Regions from separate parts of the Homo sapiens genome. Here all the other regions are linked to region 1. Evidence: promoter capture Hi-C in 16 types of primary human blood cells and fetal thymus (Javierre and others, 2016). All regions are on one chromosome and are shown on one strand. The core of a region is centred on a gene start or on the middle of the fragment in contact, and the rest is flanking DNA. Distances in the headings are between cores, read along the strand shown.

Region 1 (2,735 bases), core at 168-2,667:
AGAAAAATAATTTGAAAAGTGAGACCCCTGCCCTCTAGGGCCTGTGAGGTGACATCACAGCAGGGCCCAGTGGGGAATTGAGAGGCTGCTGTGCCCAGCCCTGTGGTTCTGGGGTCAGCTCCATGGCCTGAGAAGGGATCAGGACAGGTAACTTGTCTGGGAGCTGTGAGCAGGGTTCTCCCAGGCTGCACCAGGAAAGGCCCTCCAATCCTGCCTGTCTTGGGAAGGGGAAAGAAATTATCCATGGGAAATTTAAGAGAACCAAAGGAGGTTGTAGTACCTGTTATGGGCTGAATGTGTCCCACAAAATGCATGTGTTGAAGCTCTAATCCCCAGCACCTCTGAACGTTACAGTTTGGGAGACAGGGTCTTTAAGAAGTAATTTAGTTAAATGAGGTCATTGGGGTGGGCCTTAATACAACAAGACTGATATTCTCATAAGAAGAGGAGATGAGGACACAGACACACACAGAGGAAGATCATGTGTTTAAGACACAGAGAGAAAATGGCCCTGTATAAGCCAAGGAGAGAGACTTCAGTAGAAACTAACCCTGCTGACACCTTGATCTTGGACTTCAGCCTCCTTAACTGCAAGGAAGTAAATATCTGTAGTTTCAGCCACCCAGCCTGCAGTTCTTTGTTATGGAAGCCCTAGGAAAGGAATATAGGACCCAGTAAGCAGCAAATGTGGAACTTCTTAAAGAGGAAGAGGCCACAGAGAAATGGGTGGTAAGAATCAGGTCACAGGGGAGGGAGGAGCATGGGGGAACAGAGGACAAAGTGAGGAGCACCCTTAGGGAGGATGGTGGCTGAACACTCCCAGGATACACCACACCACTGCCCTACTCAAGTGAGCACTATTACAGACTTCACATCCTCAGTTTGGTGAAGAGAGAGGGCTGGGCCTAGAGCCACATAACCCTGTTAGGGTGTCTCTGAGCTTACTCTGTGGACTTGGGCATGTCACTTGGCCCTAGGGCCTCAGGACTGGTGAGGATTTAGATAATGATTCTTCTCTGCTTTTTCAATTGAAATATTATCAAAATGTAAGTAATTGTTGTTGTGGTGGTTGAATCGTCCTGTGGTTCAATGCCTCTGGTAGCCAGCTGCAGATCCACAGAGAAAGTGCTCAGCTCCCTGATTTTCTGCTCTCAGTCAAAGCCTAATCCTTGGCCTTTCTTGGCAGCACTTGTCATTGTCCGGAATCCCTGAAAGTCCAGGGACAGGCCATGGCTCAGTGGGCAGGAAAAAAGATTTTAACCGAAGGCAGTGCTCACCTGTGAGTCTCCCCAGCAGTAGCGTCATCAGCAGGAAAGGACTAGGAAGGTGGGGCCAGGAGGCTGGCACGGGCATTCTGGAGACCTTAGGAGCCTGCTCTGTCCAAACGTCTGTGCTGGGAAGATCGCAGACTCTGCTCTGAGGAGAGAAGACAAGCCCTGCCTCCCTTAGTTCAAGAGGAAGTGGCTGCGATGGAGTGAAGCAGTAACCTGCTTCTGGATTGTGAAACAGAAATCAGGAACAGCAAGCAGCTACAATGCAAGCAGTTATGCATGCCCCATTTCAGGAGAATCAGACAGGCTTAGCAGAAATAATGCTTCCTTCCCACCTGAGGTCTTAACTCCTTCCATGACTCCTAACCCCATCTTTATGTCTTCTTGGTGATTTGCCATTTGGTGCTCTTAAGCCAGGAAGGACCTGTGGTTATGAAATGTTTCCTAAACTTTCCATCTCAAGACCTCAGGATGTGGTTGGCTTGTGGTCTCATTCTACAACAGCCTCAACCAAGTGCTACTCAGTTGGGGCAGGATGAGGGATCACTGGACCTGCTCAGTGTTGGAGAGGAACAGGTCTGCTCTTGAAATGGTTCCCTATTCCGAACTTTTATAAATATAAATGGCAAAACTTAGCCCAAATTCAGTCTCATGTGGCCGTTAGCACTTTCATATGCCTGCACCCAGCAGAAGGAATTATTTCCTGACTTCTTCCAGGAGAGGAAGTGGGCTTAGGGTAATAAGGATCTGCTTTGTGAGGTGAGGTGGGGATTATGGGTTATGGAAAGGGGATATGTTTATTATGGGGGAGAATATGGAGGGCAGATTCCTGGAGCAGTCACATCGATTTCAATACTCTTTGCTCTGCACATAGAACACCTATTCCATTCATCACTGTCTTCAGATGGGAACTGAGGAGGGAGGGAGAATAAATACCCTAAGAAGATGTGCTAAGGAGTTGGGGAAGTTACTGGGCCTGCCTAGGTTCAGTTTTGCCTTCTAACCTTGGGATAATAAGTCTCACTGCCATGTTTTAGTGAACATCAAAAGAGATAATGACTATACATCCCTGAGATTCAGTAGGTTATTATTGATACTCATGGTGCCAGGTGAAGAGAGGGAACTCAAATATTGCTTTTAAATGGATTTCTACTGCATGCTGAGTTTCCCACCAGTGGCCTTCTCCCATGTTCCCCGGACTTCTGGAACCCAGCTTTTATGGTGTACTTGGTCTACCTCTGACACTCTGAGATCAATTTCTCCCTCTGGATCCTCTTCACCCTGCTTTTTGTCAATCTGTAGATGAATTCCTTTTCTTACAATCTCCAGCTGTGTGACTTTCAACAAGACACTTGACTTCTCTAAGCCTTAACTTAATTACATGTAAATGGAAGTTATAACATGCACCTTGTAGTGATATGGTAAGAGTAATATAAGCCATACAGAAGGTTTGATTCATATTTA
Region 2 (2,735 bases), core at 100-2,599, 390 kb before region 1:
ATCCTCTTGAATGGTTGCCGTGACATCATTTCCTGAGGTCGGAAATTGGGAGCTAAACTTCAATTTGAATTCAATTTGAATCCTGTCTCTACAATTCCCAACCACGTGACCCTAGACAGGTTGCTATTTTTTCTCCAGCCCTTTCCTTATTCAAAAGGGGAAAACCAGTAACTACTTTTGTGAGATTGTTTGAAGAGTCAATGAGACAACCCATGAAAATGCCCAGCCAGGAGCCTGAACCTTATCAATAACCTTATATTGGATGCCATTGCCGCTCCAAGATTTATTAGTATTTACTATCAAACTCAAGAGAGGAAACCAGCCTTGCATCCTGATGCTCTTGCAGGATTTTTCTCAGGTTCTAGCACTTGGCCTTGACTACTGAGAACTGTGATATTCCAGGCTGGAAAATATTTGCTGTCCCCAAAGGGCAGGTCAATGTGAATAATCTTTTTAATAATAACAATAATAATAATAGCTAATATTTGTAGAGCACTTATTATTGCTTGGCTCTTTTCATGGTTCATTTTATTTATTTCTTACAATATCCTACGGCGCGAGTACTTTTATTATTTTCACTTTACAGATGAGAAAATCTGAGGTTCAAGGGATTAAAGAATTTCTCCAGTGACCTCCAGCTATAAGTGGAAGAGAAGAGACTGGACTGCATCATAGGGATGTTCAGAGATCAGCCAGAAAGATCACCTTTCACAACAGGACTATGGGGCCCAGGCCCCATCCCTGTCATGCCCCTGCTCAGGTGTCTCAGGTCCGAGCGCCAGGACAAAGCCGGAGACTGCGCACTAGGACCGGTGCGCCTTGCTCACTGTCTGACTCTATCCCTCCTGCCCCGTCCACTGTCCCCACCAACGCCCTGCGCCCTCGTCCCTCTCAGTCCCGGTCCTCTCCACTCTAGCGCACTGCCCTACTCTGTCCGTACCCCCAGCCGCCGCCGCCGCCGCCGCGCCCAGTCCCTCGGTCGCTGGCCCGCCCTTCCCCGCCCCCTGCCCCCGGTCCCTCAGCCACTGCCCCGCCCCGCCCGTCCATACCCCTCCACGCCCCTCCCCATGTCCTGCCCGTCCCTCTCCATCCCCTGCACGCCCCGCCCCTCGCCCACTGCCCCGCCCCATCCCCTGTCAGTCCCGTCCATCGCCCACTGCCCCGCCCCGTCTCCTGCACGCCCCGCCCCGTCCCCTGCACGCCCCGCCCTCGCCCACTGCCCCGCCCCGTCCCCTGCACGCCCCGCCCCTCGCCCACTGCTCCGCCCCGTCCCCTGCACGCCCCGCCCTCGCCCACTGCCCCGCCTTCTCCACGCCCCGCCCCTCCCCGCCCCGCGCCTGCCGCGCATTGCAGACGCCCAGCGGCGCCAAGAACCCGGCCAAGCTGACTTGGCGACTCCTCGCAGCCCCTGCTCTGGCACGCCACACCTCAGACGAGGCTTTGAAAGTAGGGCGCAGCCTGAGAGGCCGGCCGGACCCCGAGTGCTGTAGGCGGGCTGGGAGATGGGGGCCGCCGCCACCCACATTCCCACACGCACCCGGCGCCGGCGCCTCACGCCGTGTTAGCTCGCGGCGCCAAGCCCGGAGGGTCCCGCCTGAGGAAGAAAGGTCGTCGCCCGCAGCCCAGCTGGGGCTGGAGGCGCGACCCGGGGTCTCCTCGCCCGCACGCGGAAGAAAATGGGCGCTGTGGCCTCAGTTTCCCTCTGTGAGCACCCGGCCCGGAACTCTGAGGAGTCGTCTGTGGAGGAGCCTTTGGCGTCCCCCTGCCCCTGAGCGTGGCCGTCAGCTCTTCCCAGCCCCTGCACTTTGCTTTCCCCTCCCTCACGCCCGGAAGGGTCTCGCCCTGCCCGGCTCAGCCCTCTCTCCCCACGCCCCTCTCCCAGGGTCCCCGCCCGGTCCCCTTCCGACCCCTTCCTCCCTCCCTTCGCTCCCTCCCCGCCACCGCCGCCACCCTGCCCTTTGCGGGCCGGTTTCCACGGAGTGGCCCCATCCCGGTGGCTTCACGTTGCACGAAGTCAGTTCAATCTGGAGACTGAAAAAGCCTCCGGGACGTGGGGCGGGAGGGTGCGGGGGGAGTTTGTGTGCGTATTTTGTGGGGAGGGGAAAAAGGTTAGGTAATATGTGCTCGGGAAAATCAATGTCTCAGGAATAGCAAATCTCAGGGTTTGGGTTTTTTCTTTGTTTGTTTTCTCTTTTAAGAAGTCCATCACTTAAAAAGTACATTTGATTTTTTTGAGACGGAGTCGCCCTCTGTCGCCCAGGCTGGAGTGCAGTAGGGCGATCGCGGCTCATTGCAGCCTCCGTCTCCCGGGTTCGAGCGATTCTCCTGCCTCAGCCTCCCAAGTAGCTGGGATTACAGACGCCCGCCACCGTGCCTGGCTACTTTTTGTACTTTTAGTAGAGACGGGGTTTCACCATGTTGGCCAGGCTGGTCTCCAGTTCCTGGCATCAAAGTGATCCGCCCGCCTCAGCCTCCCACAGTGCTGGGATTACAGGCGTGAGCCACTGCGCCAGGCCAAAAAGTACATTTTAAAAGTACCTCACACCACTGGGAGCCATTTAAAAAGATAAATAGGAATTTATTCCGAGAGAGCGAAACACACAGACTAAAAAGGAAAGTAGTGGAACCAGCGCAAGGTACAAGCCATATGCATTAAAATCTCCAGCTGCCCCGTAGGGGAACATGGTTTGGCGGATTGCGTCACCTTTAGTTGGGGCATAATGATTGAATTCTTG
Region 3 (2,735 bases), core at 135-2,634, 370 kb after region 1:
TGGGACTGGGGGGAGAAGAGGAGGGGAAAAGAGAAGGAAGGTGCCACAGAGGGGTGGGAGTGAGGCCTGGGGTGAGAAAGAACAGAAGAGGATCGACATTCTGCAATGCTTTGCAATGGATCTCGACTGGGATGCCTGTCAAATTAGAAAGGCAAGCCTTGTATATTTCAGCAACCCTTGGAAGAAAGATGATAATGAAGACTTTCAGTCTGTGGGAGGGGAATTGAAATCAGATCCAATAATCGAAAGAGCTTGTTTCCCCTGGGAAGACTGGAGACTTAATTAAGTAATGTTTGTAGAGCTTGGAGGGATTCTTGATACCCAGGAAAAAGTAAGCAGTTGCAGAATTTACTCTTCAACCTTGGAGTAGTCAGCAGGCTTTTTTTTTTTTTTTTTTTTTCCTGAAACTCATCAGCTTTTTGCTAGAATCAAACTTTGAGACTTGGTACTTTTCTGAATATGGGTCTCTGGACCAGTGAGCAAATGGCTTTCCCTTTGAGCCTCCTCCTGGCCTTAGACTCCTCTGGCTGTAGTTAATAGGAGAGCAACAAGTCCTTTCCAAGTAAAATGGACAAGAAAATGCCTGCTAAGCCTGGGCCTCCTGGCTTGTTGTCACTCCCTTTTCCCATTCCCTTCCAACAAAACATCCCCAAACTTCAACCTGTATCAAATTCCATCAAAAGAAGCCGCTCAAACCAGCACCCTGTCAGCAATTAAACACAATCCGAAAAGAATGAAAAGGCCGAACCTGGCCGTACATTGATGTACATGTTATGTGATAAATGCCAGAGCCTTGGATCTCATTAATGTCCTCAAGCCATTGTTCTCTAAGTCCAGTGAGACTCATTGACCTTTAAAATCACCCTGATTAGTGAAACCTCTCACTTCTCCCATCCAGGGTGTCCCATTTTCCCCAGACCCTGGGAATGGCATGGGAACTGCTGTGTGGGAGACTGCAAGAAGGAGACCCTGGAGCTAAAGCCAAAGGGTGGTCCTCTTGGGAGAGAGCTTACCACCTGTTTAAGCCAGGACTGTGCAGAAAGGGAGAGTCCAAAGAGCAGTCTCTCACTGGTCTGGCTTTTGTGAACTAGCCTCCTAACTGTAACCACCTTTGCTAGATAATCAGACCCAAACCTAAAATCCCCAGCCCGAGCTCCCACCATCTCTAGGTCCAGAGGACCAGGAATAAGCAAATAAAACCAAGCGATAGAATTCCAGTGCCCCCTCTGGATGTTACCTGCACTCTGCTTTGTCCCTGGGCAGCTTCTGGCCGAGCAGGTCGGAGGTGGCAGTGGCTGGTCCAAGGCTCAGGGGCCTCCTTGACTCCGGCTTGGGAGGAGGTGCCAAAGAGGCAGCTGTGAACACCACCAAAGCCCCTTCAAATGGCAGTTCTGGTGCCTCTTCCCCCCTTTTATGGACGAGAGCCTCCCCTGTCGCTCAGCCCTTGCTGAGCACAGGCTGCTGGGAGCCAATGGGGAAGTGGCTGAGAGCAGTCAGAGCACAGACCCCCAGGCCCTTCAACTCGAACTCCCTGGGCCTGACACAATAGGCTTCTCTTCGTGACAGGGATGTGGAGGAGGAAGGCAGCCGTGTTGGGGAGGGGGCGGATTCTGGGTGTAGTGCTGTTTGTCACTTGAAATCCGGCCACTTCAGTTTTTGATGCGTTTCCAGGAGAGTGTCACAGGAAAAAGAAGACAGGGAAGGACAGAGACAGAAGAGTTAGAGAAAGAGAGAGAGAGAGAGAGACTCAGAGAGAATCGGAAATCGAGAAAGAGGCAATGTCGGACCTAGGGAGTGATACAAAGGAGGGGAGAAAGAGAAAGAAAAACAGAGACAGAGAGTGGCAGAGATAGGGAGATGGGTAGAAACACAAGGAGAGAGGGACAGAGCAAGAAAAAAGGAAACCAGCCAGGTAGACTGTCAGACTCAAAACACACTGATCCACAGACAGACAGACGTGGAGACAGACAGAGGCTGAGACAGTCTTCTGATCACGGAAGAGAGTCGGAAGATGACAGCCGAGTCAGCAGGCACGTGCATGGCCCGCTGTTGCGTGCCGTGGCAACTCTGTGTTGGCTGGTGCACGCGTGTGCTGGAATCTTTTTGTGTGTACATTTGCCTGCAAACGGCATTCGGCTCTGGTACATGCCTGAGCTGGTGCCAGGCACACTAGCCCTGGCAGAAGCACAGCTCTTCCCCGACAGCCAGGAGCTGCAGTTTAGTTTTCTCTGGCGGCAACACAAAATGAATAGCAGGAAAAACCCCTCAAAATATGGGCTGCAATATGCCTCAGCACACACTCTGGGTGAGGGATGGACCCACCTCAATATACCCTTGGCCTGGACCAGCAGCAGCTTGAAGGTGGCACTCTTCATTGCTACAGAGATCTTCCAGAACATAAGGGTCTTTGAGTTTGGAAGAGAACATGCTTCTCTTCTCAGTCAATAGCAGACAGTTTGTGGTGGGAGGCACAACTATTTCAGAAGTCTGGCAGGGCCGCCCATTTTGTGGGCACCTGGCTGCACCAGGCGGTTAGGTAGAGTTGTCAGATTTAATCCTCATGACCTAGCCAGTTGGTTAATATTATCCCCATCTTGCAGATGAGAAAACAGAGGTTTGAGAGCTGAGAAACTTTCCTAGAGACACACAGCAAGTAAGTCATCCAGCTAGAACCTAAAGTCAGGTCCATCTATCCTCCAAGTTCCTAGAGACACACAGCAAGTAAGTCATCCAGC
Region 4 (2,735 bases), core at 124-2,623, 290 kb before region 1:
GCATTTAGCACAGCACCTAGCACATAATAGGCATTCAGTAAAAGTTAGCTGTTTATTCATTGTTTCAGCGCTTACTTACTCAGCACCTGCTAAGTCTGAGTACTGTTCTAGGTATCAGCAGTGAAGGAAAGAAGACTTGGTCCCCAAATGTACTTTCTTTGGGGGAAGAGCTGGATAAATAGGCTTTGTGACTCTGTGTGCTGTGTTAGATGGTGGGAGGCACTGGAGAGAAAGAGCAGGACGGAGGGTCATGTCAGGAGGTTCAGAAGCCTTGCTGGCTGGGTGGGGTGACATTTGAGGAAAGGCCTAATGGGGTGGGCACGGCCATTGCAGAGCCTCTCAGGTGGGAGTTGGTGTTGTGTTTAGAGGACATCTGCCAGTGAGAAGCCAGTTGTGCAGAGAGGGAGTAAGGAGGAGTAGTGGGGAGGAAGCTGGAGAAGTGAGAGGGGCCAGATCCTGGAGGGCCTGGAGGTCATGGTGAGGACTTTGGCATTTACTGTAGTGAGATGGGAGCCACTGGGGGATTTGTAGCAGCAGAGTGCCAAGGTCCAAGGGTTATTTTGACAGGCCTCCTCTGGCTGATGTTTGGAGGATGGGCTACAGGGCAGGAGTGGGAGCAGGAGCCCAGGTGGGAAGTGATGGTGGTGGAATTGTCATGAGCTTGGGCCACTGTACGTGAAGCTGCCTGTCCAGTGCTCGCCCAGCCCATACCAGGCTCGTTTTCTGCCCCATTTTCTGAGACCCTGCTGAGGAGGGCATGCACTGGCTCCTGTGTCCAGTATGTCCTTCCATTCTCCTGACTTTGTGGGCTATTTTCAGTCTCCAGATGAAGAAACCAGTTCTTAGAAAGGTGAAGCCCCTGGCGCAGTTCCCCAGCAGGTGTTTCAGTGCTGTGGCAGGAAGGTTTTTTGATAGAAACAGCCTCAGGCCAGAGAAGTCGGCCTGAGCTGTGGATTCCTTGGGAGAAATGGGCTTTTTGCCTGCCTGCAGCCTCTGGTTTCGGCTGGAATTGGCCTTTCAAGGAGCAAAGTGTGGATCTCATCTCCTTGAGCACAGTCATGGGCAGTCAGAAGGCATCGGGGGCCCTCATGATGTCTGGGTGAAGAAAATCACTCAGCCCTTAATCAAACTTGGTCCAGGGCTGGGATCAGAAGAAGAAACCCCACTTCACACTTGACTGCTTGGAGTGAAGCACTTCGAAAGGAAGCTGCCTGGGAAGTCCCAGAAGGGAAGGGGCAGGGAGGGAAGGGGACAGGGTGAGAGCAGGTCTCACTCATCCCAATCCCAGCCAGGATTGGGTCAGGGCCCCCAGCGCTTACCTGCAGGCAAGGTGCTGCTCCACGACCTTCTCCAGCTGCTGCCGCTGCTGAATCTGTTTCCCTCCCTGAAACGTAGCCCTGTCTCTCAGCTGGCTTCCTGATCTGGGAAGGGTGGTGCCTGTCCCCTGTTCAGCTGACTCACCTTGGACTGGGATGGGCACAGGTGAGGGCTGTGGCTGGGTAAACAAGGCAGGTTGCCAGCCCAGAGGAGGCCTTTGGCCTTAGTCTGGATTTGGAGGTGGGATTAAGGCCCTCACAGCTGCTGTTCAGACGGTTATGAACCAAGACTTCTTGGCCTTTTCTTAAATAGCTCTAAATTTGGGTTGGACACCTAGTCCTGCTGATCGAGGCAGTTGGCTAGAGGGCGGTTTGTGATAGGTATCTAGGGGTCTAGGCCAGGATATTAAAAAGTGGTCATATCCTGTGACCCAGCATTTCTTCTAGGAATTTGTTACAGTGGAGTCACAGGGCCCATCCATCACTGCTGCTTCTAGTAAGGAAAATGTAGAAATCCCAAATGCCCATCTCTGTGGTCTGCTTGAATAAATCATTGTCTGTGGAAGATCACAGAGCTATTAAAGTCACTTAAGGAAGAAGGTATGAGGAAACATTTCTGAGATTCTAGTGAGATGTTGAAAAATCAATATTGTGAATCTCTTCTTGCATTTTGTTTTCATTTTTTGTAAAGTGGATGTGCGTTGAAAGCAGTCTAGGAGGACATACGCTAAAATGCTGAGTATCTCTGAATGGCAGCATTGAGGGTGAGGTTTTCAGTTTGTACTTTTGTGTGTTCCAAGGTGGTTTTTTTTTTTTTAAGTTAGCTTTTGCTCTGAATGCTCATGACTTTTGTAAGGGGGAAGCAATTAAGTTTGATTATTTTAATGGGAATTTAGAGTGGTTGTCTCTTGGGAGCAGACCTAAGGAGCTGTGTGCTGAGGTGGAGATTTTTTTTTTTATGGCACATTTTTGGTGTCTTAAATTTTGAAAAGTTTAAATGTACTACTTATTCCAAAAATAATTATATAAATTTGAACAGAAAAGGAGGAAGAATTTAGTTTAGATCCTGGTGGGTTTGGTTGGGTGAGGGTGCCTGTCGCACTGGGTGCCTGGGGAGGGACGAGGGACTCGTGTGCTGGGCAGTCCCATGAGGATTGACGCTGTACACACTCAGGGTGTGTCAGTATCTGGGCTGCTTCCTGGGCCAGGCAGGCCTACGTCACAGTTCCCATGACCCACCTGGCAGAGTTGCACTAGCCTTGGGTGTCAGATCTTGTGCCTGCCAATGAAGAGCTTACAGCCCAGAGTCCCACACAGGAAACACACAATAGGAATAATAACAAGAAAGACATTTGCCACTAATTCAGCACTTACTCCCAGAGAGCACAGAGATTCTACCCCTGGCACTTTAAAGGCATT

What was found. Contacts are between HindIII fragments. The CHiCAGO score rates a contact against its expected background, and 5 or more counts as called.
Region 2: the fragment with the promoter of RAD21L1 here is called in contact with the fragment with the promoter of SIRPB1 in region 1 in 5 of 17 cell types (activated CD4 T cells, total CD4 T cells, neutrophils and 2 more); the score reaches 7.0 in activated CD4 T cells.
Region 3: a contact is called between the fragment with the promoter of PDYN here and the fragment with the promoter of SIRPB1 in region 1, in 2 of 17 cell types (neutrophils and monocytes). The highest score is 9.5, in neutrophils.
Region 4: the fragment with the promoter of SDCBP2 here is called in contact with the fragment with the promoter of SIRPB1 in region 1 in 13 of 17 cell types (neutrophils, activated CD4 T cells, naive CD8 T cells and 10 more); the score reaches 19.7 in neutrophils.

Annotation. Positions count from the first base shown.
Region 1 is chr20:1,618,592-1,621,326 of GRCh38, forward strand. It overlaps SIRPB1 (signal regulatory protein beta 1), which reads right to left and starts at 1,418. Exons shown (of 6, transcript NM_006065.5): 1 at 1,278-1,418. The coding sequence starts at 1,353. The HindIII fragment of the contact is 7,240 bases long and covers 1-2,735 here.
Region 2 is chr20:1,224,695-1,227,429 of GRCh38, forward strand. RAD21L1 (RAD21 cohesin complex component like 1) reads left to right here and starts at 1,350. Exons shown (of 14, transcript NM_001384355.1): 1 at 1,350-1,446. RefSeq lists a silencer at 1,562-1,611. The HindIII fragment of the contact is 7,037 bases long and covers 1-2,735 here.
Region 3 is chr20:1,992,674-1,995,408 of GRCh38, forward strand. PDYN (prodynorphin) reads right to left here and starts at 1,385. Exons shown (of 4, transcript NM_024411.5): 1 at 1,238-1,385. All of the region lies in intron 3 of PDYN-AS1 (PDYN antisense RNA 1), which reads left to right. RefSeq lists an enhancer at 925-1,755. The HindIII fragment of the contact is 28,770 bases long and covers 1-2,735 here.
Region 4 is chr20:1,327,766-1,330,500 of GRCh38, forward strand. SDCBP2 (syndecan binding protein 2) reads right to left here and starts at 1,374. Exons shown (of 9, transcript NM_080489.5): 1 at 1,320-1,374. All of the region lies in intron 2 of FKBP1A-SDCBP2 (FKBP1A-SDCBP2 readthrough (NMD candidate)), which reads right to left. The region is part of intron 1 of SDCBP2-AS1 (SDCBP2 antisense RNA 1); the gene reads left to right. The HindIII fragment of the contact is 15,880 bases long and covers 1-2,735 here.